3 separate regions of the Homo sapiens genome follow, and all the other regions are linked to region 2. Evidence: promoter capture Hi-C in 16 types of primary human blood cells and fetal thymus (Javierre and others, 2016). All regions are on one chromosome and are shown on one strand. The core of a region is centred on a gene start or on the middle of the fragment in contact, and the rest is flanking DNA. Distances in the headings are between cores, read along the strand shown.

Evidence for each region. The method cuts DNA at HindIII sites, captures the fragments that hold promoters and counts their contacts. A CHiCAGO score of 5 or more calls a contact.
Region 1: a fragment that was not itself captured here is called in contact with the fragment with the promoter of ARHGAP10 in region 2 in 1 of 17 cell types (M0 macrophages); the score reaches 5.2 in M0 macrophages.
Region 3: a fragment that was not itself captured here is called in contact with the fragment with the promoter of ARHGAP10 in region 2 in 1 of 17 cell types (M1 macrophages); the score reaches 6.2 in M1 macrophages.

What each region holds. Positions count from the first base shown.
Region 1 is chr4:148,026,771-148,030,139 of GRCh38, reverse strand. The region is part of intron 19 of ARHGAP10 (Rho GTPase activating protein 10); the gene reads right to left. Among named protein-coding and RNA genes, the nearest start is that of MIR4799, 250 kb to the right of the region's middle. The HindIII fragment of the contact is 3,526 bases long and covers 14-3,369 here.
Region 2 is chr4:147,730,032-147,733,551 of GRCh38, reverse strand. It overlaps ARHGAP10 (Rho GTPase activating protein 10), which reads right to left and starts at 1,464. Exons shown (of 23, transcript NM_024605.4): 1 at 1,097-1,464. The coding sequence starts at 1,250. RefSeq lists enhancers at 678-747, 68-960, 961-1,853 and silencers at 858-937, 1,248-1,767. The HindIII fragment of the contact is 2,455 bases long and covers 611-3,065 here.
Region 3 is chr4:147,992,607-147,996,050 of GRCh38, reverse strand. All of the region lies in intron 18 of ARHGAP10 (Rho GTPase activating protein 10), which reads right to left. Among named protein-coding and RNA genes, the nearest start is that of MIR4799, 210 kb to the right of the region's middle. The HindIII fragment of the contact is 1,458 bases long and covers 596-2,053 here.

The DNA.
Region 1 (3,369 bases), core at 527-3,026, 300 kb before region 2:
CATTAAATAAGCTTTTTTTTTTTCCTCCTCCACAGAAAGGGGGAAATGTTCATCCCACACAGAAGCACAGTTAAAATTACATAGGAAGCAATAGAAGAAGTTGCCTTTCACTTTGTCACTAGCATTGGGGTTGGTGGGGGGGGGGATGCTGAGCCTCACGGGAGGTTTCTGGGGAGACACCAACGCAGGGGAGGCATCCCACATAATTTCTAGGCACGCCACAACTCAATTACAGCCCTGAATCTTCTGGCTGCCTTTTCCAACCCATTGATCTCATCATTGTAAAAGTGAGTTAAGAAATAATCTGTCTACATATACTGTCACACATTCAAGCCTGGTCTTAGATTAAACTTCACAACACAGTAATTCCATGTCAAGGAATCATAACACTGCTGTGAGGAGATGGCAAAGGGCTTCTGGGCTTGGGAAGTTATTATCCAGAGCCCACCCATGAAATGCCATGCCAAAAAAAAATTGGTAAGCATGGAGAAAAGACAGACTGCCCATCTTAATGCAAAGGTCTGCTTAGTCCAGTTACCTGGATTGATTATAATCTGCATCAAGCTGATCACATGTTTACAAGGAAACATCTATAGCTACAGAATGTCAACGAAAATCCATGCCAACAATGGTTTTCCAGTTGTCCTTCTCACACCTCCACATAGTTTGTGTCCTGCTAACATCGTGGGAAAGACAGAGTAGTTACAATTCACTTATGAAAGCACATTTTCATAAAGAGGCATTCTATAGATGCTCTCTTGGGAGCTGAGATTACAGAGTGCACCGCTGCCGTGAATGTGAGCTATCCTTGGCTTCTAATGAAGGGTCTCACTAGAGTGAGTGGCCTCCCATCCCTTAATATGAGCCTATGGATGAACGTGGATATATGTGCCTGTGAGGAAAAATTGGAGAAAAATGAGCTGTACTTTGCTCATAGTTATAGGACTGTTCTTTTTCTAAGCACATGGAATATTTTAGTAACTATTTACTATTTCTCTCTTTCTACTGACTTTCCCATATACACTATTTCCATATACACTATTTATACCAAGACATTCTACACCATTTTTTACTAAACCTATTTTTCAAAGCAGTTACGCATAAGAATACGTATTGAACACACTAACAAAATGGCATGTTTCCTTCCTTTTGATGGAAAGATGGTCTGTTTTTAAGCTGCAAGGAAAAAACTGAAGATAAAAACAAAAACATAAACACAATGATAGATTTACCTATGAGCCTAATCTGTGGCGAATAATGTCCACTTTATCTGCCTTGATCTCTCCATCTAGTCAGTTGAGAAGTCCCCGATTTGCTTTAACATCTCTCCCAGATATCCATTTTATTTTTGCTTTCTAGTGCTAATTCAAGCCCACTTCAACCTCAGCCTAAATTACTTCATCAGCCTTTTACCATGGCTGCCTTTCAGATTTCTACTGGCAGATTAAGTCAGATTAAGTTTCTTAAGTATTATTTTCAAAATGTTACAACTCTTCTCCCTTGCTGAAAAATATTCAGTGGTTCCTCTTATCATTTTAAACCTAAAGCACCTTTCCCTGGCTTTAAGAATACTACCCTACAGCAGCAGCTAGAGTTCGAGTGCTTACTATGTGCCAGACGTTAGGCTAAACACATTAACAACTGAACCTTCTCAACCATCCTCAGTGGTAGATACTATTATTACCCTGATTTTGTAGCTAATAAAATAGATTTAGAGAGGGTAAGCAATTTGTCCATGAGTATACAGTCAGGATACATATTCCCCAGCCCAGGCTCCAATCCACCCATTTGTCCCTTAAGCTGTCTCTCCTGGGTCTAAGTCTTTCACATCAGTTCCGCCCATCATTCACAACTGTCAACACTGTCCCCTTCTAATCAGGGAATCTCCTACCCTCACACCTGGCTCCGGCTCTCTGCTCCTGCCATGCCTCAGTCACGCTACTCCCCTTACCTGAAACCCTTTCCCACCCAACTGCCGAAACAGCTCATTTCAAGGAAACCAGAAAGCACCCCCTACAGACTTCCCTTCCTCAGAGCTAGCACTGGGCACTTACTGCCACGTTGTTTCTTATTTCACTGCAGTGACAAACAGAATGGGAACAGAAAATTAGCTCCTTTAAAGGAAAAACCGTATGTGGCAGGATGTGGAGCATATAAAAGCTCTTCAATTGATATGCAGTATAATTCTGATTTTCATATCTAGTATAATAAAAACCACTAATAAATGGTAGAGGCAAAAAAAACTTCCAAATGGCTAACAGCATTCCATCGTTTAGAATTAAAAATCTACATTTAAAAAGACCGCACAGTGGCCTGCTTTCTAGTTTTCTGTTCTCTTGCTCATGCCTCAAAATCAAACCAAATTCTTTCAACCTACCTAAGACGGCTAATTTATATCATCAGCATTGCTCTCGTTGACGTGTGACATTTAAATTTTAGCTAATTATTCAAAGTTCTAATTTGATATTACTCAGGCTGAAAGGACATCTATATATGACATATTTGTCCTACTCTGATTTTAGAGACTCACCTAGATCAAGATATGTTCCTACTTAGGATACAAGGAAATGATCACGTGTCATTGTTTATCCATCTCTGCCCCGCTCAACAGTAGTATTTTCATTTTTTTGCTGAGAAGGCTCTGTATCCTCATCACGGTATCTACCACGCTGTAGGACTACAATAACACATGCTCAACAAAATGTGCTGCAGTTAGCACATTCGTGATCCAAATGTTAAAGTGCCAACCCGACGATACCCAAGTAAGACCAACACTCAAATGTTATTAAATCTTGCCAATTGGCTTGCAAGATGATTTTGTTTTCAACTCACTATAAGTCATATTTTTTTAAGTTGCCTAAATAAGCTGCTGTATCATGTTACAAAAGAAGACAGGCAAAGAATACTTAATTACACCAGAAGATACATATAAAACCTAGTTCTGTAAATGTCTAGTTTTGTTTAAAATTAGAACTAGCATGAAGAAAGAGATTCAGATGGTAATCCTCTTCTCCCCGACTCCCCAGACCTTTGCTTAAAATTTCTTCTGCCTTGAATGAAAAATAACAAAGATCACTTTGATCTCATATAGCCTCCTGAACTTTCCTTGTATTTGGGGGAATTACAATAAACACAACAGCCCCTCTTTATGTAAGAGATTGTAAGGACATGCACTTGGAGTGGGGGCAGGAGAAAATAAACACATAACATATATTTAACATTTTTAGAGTTATCTTACTAGTAGTTCTAAAGAAATAAAAACATGGGATATAACTTGAAAATGAAATGAAAGCAAACCTTTGATTTCTAATCTTTTCAGCACTTAGCAGCCTACGTCATATTTTGCTTTTTCATAACTGACTTAGCCAA
Region 2 (3,520 bases), core at 215-2,714:
CGAATACCTAAGGCTGAGAATTACTGAACTGAGAATCTAGGTGAGTGATGAAGGCCCTAAGAACCCAGCCCCTCAAGGCTGGATACTGCCCAAGTCCCTGTCTGCTGTATGGACAGGTCTTTTAAAGGGGGAAAGGGGACATTCACCGCCATCCTCCGAAGGGGTTATGGATCCAAGGGATGGTCAGGCTGCCCAGCTCCTCACTGGGGCTAATTCCGCCCCATTTTCCAGTAGCATCACTAACTCAGTATTTCTGCATGAATTTTGGCCCCTTCTCTCCTAGAAAGACTCTCCTCAACTACACTAAAATACAGTTATCTCTCCTGTATCTCGTGTCTTCTTCCGAGTTTAAGAGACAGAAGTTCAGGGGAGGAAGGCACCAAGCCTAACCGGGGTGGAATTCCCTATTTGCAAGCAGTGCCCGCCTAGGCTAGAGGGCAGGCTGTCCGCTCACCCTTCCAAACCCCAATCTTTGAACCCTCCTCAGCACGGCAGGGGAGGAATGTGCGGAAGCAGCATAAAGCCAGGTGGACTTTCTGGTTTGGCACGTGAAGGACCTGGAACAGGACTGTCGGGGAAGATCAGACAATGAGAGGGAAAAGGTGAAGCTTAAGGGGACTCTGGAAAACTCAACACTCCCGCAGGGTTTCAAAGAATCCCCAAGAAATTTCTTTTGAGAAGTCACAAAACAAAACTAGGCAAACAGATGCCTCGGTTTTGTAAGAGATTGTGAGTAGCTTTAGGCAGCAATGAAACCTGACTCCGGGCCAGGAGTGCCTAGGGTCGGTCCAGCGGAGCGCGCATTCAGCGAGGGGTGTTCGGCCGGGGCCAGGCGGGGCCCAGGCGGGGCCCGCTGGCAGCTGGTTCCCGCCGCCGCAGAGCCGCAGGGGCGGGAATGGGGACTCGCCGCGCTGCCTCGAGGAGGAATGATTCCAGGGACCCCCCGGGGTTCCGAGAGAGCTGGGCTGGTCCGGAATGAATTCCCCGTTCCTCTGGCTGCTGGCCCCGGACACAAGACCCTCCGTCTCCTGCCGAGAGAGGCTCCCCCAGCCGCCTCGCCACGCCGCAGCCCGTCCGCGCCCGCGTCCCCGCTTACTTTTCGTCGCAGCGATGAGGTTCTTCCCGTCCTTAATGAGCTCTTTGATGAACTTGTTGGTCCTCTCGAGTTCCGCTTCGTGAGCGCGGATCCTCTCCCGGAACCACGGGCTGTCGAGGTAGCAGTCGCTGAACTCCAGGGGCTGCAGCCCCATGACGGCAGCGGTCGCTGCGCGGTGCGCACGGCCGCGCGCTCCTGCCCGAGCCGAGCTCCGAGGCCGCTGCCAGGTGCGGCGCCGCGCGTTCAGGGAGCACAGAGGAGCTAGCAGGCCCGGGCGCGCGGCGAGCGCGGCACGGACATGTCCCGTAGAGCCGAGTCCTGCGGCGCGGAGGAGCTGCCACCGAGACCAGCGCTAGCTGCGGCGCCCCAATCCCGGCAGCCCCCGCCGAGCTCTGAGCGCCCGCGGCCCCGCCCCGCCCGGCCCCCGCGCGGCAGACACTCCCCGAGGCGCCACCCGGCCGGGCCCGCGCTCCCGCTCGTCCCCTTCTCTTTCCTCCGCCTTCCTTCTTCCTCCCTTCCCTTCCCTGGACGCCTCTTCCTTCTCTTCCCCACGCGCAGCTGCCCCTCCTCTTCCTTCCGAGGCGTCCTGGGGCTAGAATTTCGCCCCGCGGCTCCCCTCCACCCTGGGCGCTCTCCCCTCCCCTTTGCTTGGGCTCCCGGGGCCGGGGTGACTCACAGTCGGCTCCCCGCTGCACGGAACCCGACCGGGACCGAGAAGGAGCGTCTTAATTGCAGTCGTTAGTCCCCGCAGGCGGGCGACATAACTCTGAAGTGGCTGCCTTGCAGGAGATGATTAACTCATTTATCTCATTTATCCTGGGACGCCCCCAACCCCGAGCTGGGAACGAACTCGCACAGGGGGCTCTTTTCCTTATCCCGGTTCCTTTCCCAGTTTAAAGTGAGATGCGTGGTAAATCTCCGCTTGAGATCGAAGCCTTACAATGGCAAGAGCGTTTTCTTGGTGGCCCAGCAGCTCCTATTACACTTCTCTGCGTATCCGCACTAAATAACTTAGTTGAAGAGAGAGGGCTGGCTAAACCACAGAAAAGTTGTTTCTGTTGTGTTCAGCACATTAAATTTGCTGGGGTAGGTGAAGACGATCTTTATTATTCTAAAAATAACTACCGGAAAACATGCCAGGTAACGTGTGGTTTTCACCGCGTGGGGGTGACGATCAATGAGAATTTATGTCAGTGCCCTCAAAAAGCCTATTTTGTGTGTTATGAAACAACTCCAGTGTGTCCCAAAAAAAGTTAGGCATTTTAAAGTATTAAAATGTATACCTTAGGCCGGACGTGGTGGCTCACGCCTGTAATCCCAACACTTTGGGAGACGGAGGCGGGTAGATCACCTGAGGTCAGGAGTTGGAGACCAGCTGGCTAACATGGTGAAACCCCGTCTCTACTTAAAATACAAAAAGTACCCGGGTGCGGTGGCACGTGCCTGTAGTCCCAGCTGAGGCAGGAGAATCGCTTGAACCCAGGAGGCGGAGGTTGCAGTGAGTCGTGATGGTGCCACTGCACTCCAGCCTGGGCGACAGAGCGAGACAATGTCTCAAAAAAAAAAAAAAGTATTTCTTAAAAAAAAACACTAATAGTTCATTAGAGTAACGTTTCATAATCGCAATTTATTAAGCAATTATTATGTGCCGGGCACCCACTAGGAACTCCATACATCTACAAACTCGCGATATAGACTTACATGATATGATGGTAATATTAACGAGAAACTTCAAAGTAATTCCTCAAGACGTTCAGACTCTCAGCTGGGTAATTAAGAATCTGTTTGGACAGCATGTTGTAGGAGGGTAACCCTCCCGAACAAGTTAAATAAGCCTCCTACTCAATAAGCCCTTTTGTTACAAAACAGCACCAGGAGTGCCTAACCCACAGATAAACATTATTACTCTAATGTCCATCCTCCAGAGAGTTCAAAGTGTTTTACAAATAACTTTTAGGCGGTGAAAGCTTCAGTTCCTACTAAAACCAGCAGGAGACTGGAGTCTACAGAAAAGAGAATAAAAGAGGCAAATAAAGGGGAAGAAAGACAAGAAGAGAGGGGGTGTAAACAAAAATGAGGGCCTAGCGAAACAGCCAAGCACTGACCACACTCAATCCTCAGAGCAGAAACCCAAACCTTTTCTCATAGAGGGGCTGCTGAGACTTCTTCAATATTGAACATGGAGGTTACCGTGTGACCCAGCAAGTCCACGCTTAGATATATACCCAAAAGAAATGAAAATATATGTCCACGCAAATATTTACACACAAATATTCATAGCAGCATTATTCGTAATAGCCAAAAAGTAGAATCAACCAAAATGTCCTTTGTCAGCTGTGTAATGGATGCACAAAATGTTTGTCCATAAAATGAAATATTAATCTACAATAAAAAGGAATGAAGTACTGACACGTGCTACGGCAC
Region 3 (3,444 bases), core at 75-2,574, 260 kb before region 2:
GGAAGGTCAAGTTGGGAGTATAAAAGAGATGGACCACCAGGCGCAGTGGCTGATGCCTGTAATCCCAGCACTTTGGGAGGCTGAGGCAGGCGGATCACGAGGTCAGGAGATGGAGACCATCCTGGCTGACATGGTGAAACCCCATCTCTACTAAAAATACAAAAAAATTAGCCAGGCGTAGTGGCGGGTGCCTGTAGTCCCAGCTACTCGGGAGGCTGAGGCAGGAGAATGGCGTGAACCCAGGAGGCGAAGCTCGCAGTGAGCAGAGATCGCGCCACTGCATTCCAGCCTGGGTGACAGAGCAAGACTCCGTCATGAAAAAAAAAGAGAGAGAGATGGACCATGCAAATTTTTGGAAATTTTGTTTGCTGGTCTCTAGCCTTTGTCTCTGACTGATACCAGGTTATTATTTTTTCTTCTAACCTACTGGTGGTCTGTATTGTAAGGCTGACAAATCTGTCTTTACTCTGTCATCTTAAAACATGTTTGAGATATCTGTTTTAGATAATAATAAGTAGACAAGAAATAATGCTGGTAAATACATAAGGAAAACATAATATACGGTAACATGTGGCAAGCTCTAACTTGATAAGCTTCCCTACTCCTCCCACACTCCACACTGTAAGTAGATCACATATTTTTATTACAGTATTTTAATATCACCCTTGCTGTTTTCACCTAGAGCCAGGGTTTCTAACCAAGTCTATTCATAGACTTTGGAGGTACTGTGTGCCCTTAAATCGTATATGAATGGTGTATACGCACTGGTATGTTTTCAGAAAGTGGATTATTTTTCATCAAATCCTCAAAAGGATGTGAAACATAAAAACTGGTTATCACTGACCTAGAGGAATGAATGGGAAGGCTGCCAAGAATGGGTAGCAATGGAGAATGAAAAACAATTTATAACAGTTTGGATCTATCTCAATAATAAAATAAAGTAAAAGGGTTTTAAGTTACATAGAATGTGGATAAAAACACATAGACTTCCAAAAAAGTTACACTGTGGATCTGTCTGTGGCCCTAGAAACACAGTTCTGCGGGAACCACAGAATAATACGATTACACACAAGAAACAATTCTCACTCAGAGGACCTTTCCACGTCGACCCATCAATAAGTACAGCTTACTCTGTGCTTATTAGCACATTAAGCACAAATAATCTAATTCCTTCATTAAATGATGAAAATAATGACTAATCCTCTTAGCGGTCATTTCCCCCCATTTCCACCTAAACATAAATGACATTCCAGAGAAATCAAGTATTTGAAGCCTTTCCTAGGAGAATGTTTCAACTTTTACGTATTGCTGGGGCAGAGAAAGACAGACAATTGCCTAAGAATGGGATAGCCTAGAAATAAATTCCATTTTCAATCTACGAATAAAGCAATGTTGATTCAGCAACAAATTAAAGAGTACAGGAGATGGATATTGAGAATAACATTGAGATTACGATCTACATTTTGAGTTTCTGATGTCAACTGTTTCTTTATATGAACATATACAGAATTAGTATCATTCACAAAGGATTATAAATCTTCCCCATAACCTATTAATCCAACTACTTTAGAGATTTACTTTGGCACAGGCTAAAATCTGTAGCCCATGTGCACTTCTGGTAATTAAGAATAAGTAATAATGACGACAAACACCACACCAGCTGTGCAAGGATTAACAAGAACTTTCTTGTGCACACAGCCAGGCACCGGCATGTGTGGCTCAAGCAACTATATAAAGCTCATGACTTTATGAAATCAAATACAGGGATTTCCTTTCTTACTCCCACACATTCCAACAGAGACATACATAAGCACTTTTGTGCAATTTAAACTTGAAGCCATCCATGTAGTAATGTTGACTGAAACACTATGCATCATTTAAGCTCAAAAGGAAAAAAATACAGCCTTGTTTTTCTTGGGACAGTAGAAAGACCACAAGGAACTTTCTAACTGTGTGGCTTAGCTGCCCGAAATCCCTTTTGGAAGAAGTCAGGCTATAAATGAATAAAGCAAGCTGTGTGACCTTGGGCAAGTTAATTTCAGCTCTCCAAGCTTCATTTTCTTGCATTGATCTGTAAACTGCAGATACATCAATACTATCTACCCTTTCAGGGTTGGCTGTTGATTCACGGTTTGCATGAACTAGAGCTTGCCCATGTCTGAAACACCAGCTCCTCACTGAGCCTTTAATGCCTACCCTCTCCCCCAAGCAGACTAGAATGCTTAGGAAAAAGAGTTTTGTATTTCATAATTATATCCATTATATCCTCTGCAGGCCTACTACTGTGAATGGAATAGGTAAATCTTCTGAAGACACAACTATGTTGACTCACAAATAAATGCTTAGTACACGAAGTCTTTAAATTGCAGAAATGGTGTTAACCTGGCTTTGAACAAAGCAAACGACAGGCTCCTTGTAGGTCCAAACTCAGACGATCTCCAGACCATGCTACTGGGTTTCTACTGTGTCACAGTTGCACAGCTGACTTTCTCACTAAATATTGGACTTCTAGAAAGCATGACATGCTTTTTTAATCTTTTGTACCTGTTCACATAGCAGCTTAATGTTTGCTGAATAAATTAATAATTGTATACAAGGATGCTAGCAACAAGTATCAGGTCATTTAACTATTGTTATGAATAATTTCAGACATAAATGTAAGGAAAAAGAATAATATAATGAACTCCTACATACATCATCACCTAGCCGAATCAATTACTAACTCATGACCAATCTTAGTTCATCTATATTCCCACCCTTAAAATTATTGTGAAGCAAATTCCAGGCAGAGTACAGATCTTTAGAGCTTCCAATGATTAGGTTTGACTCTGCTCTAGAATTCTAGATAAATGTATCTCTGTCATATCAAGAAAAACTTACAGAATACTGCATGACAATCAAAAGAATTCATCACTATCTGGTCAAGAAAGAACAAGATATAAACAAAAGCAAAAGCCAAACCCTGCTCCCAAATCATTATGAATTAGGTATGCATAGGTAAGATATTAGAAAGAAGGTAATTCTACAAATATCTGCATAAGAAGTAGTAATGACTAATGACTAATAATGTCCTGAAAGACAGAGGTGCCTTCTTCAATACACCCTCCAATCAGTTTCTTACTTTCTTCTTCATTCAGGCAGAAGGCTGAATACCAGAGCATCGCAAAACAATAGATGATGGGTGTCTTTCATTATTTAAGTAGAAAGTCCCGTGGTACAAGCTCATACCTTCCATGGCCATCTTAAATGAATTGAAGATGGCTCATGGGAGGAGGAAAATGGCACTAATACTGGATGGCAGAAGTCTAGAAATTGTTTTAAACCTTTTTATTAAAAGGCTTTTTCGGCCAGGTGCAATGGCTCACGTCTGTAATCCCAGCACTCTGGGAGGCCGAGGCAGGTGGATCACCTGAGATCAGGAGTTCAAGACCAGCCTGGCCAACA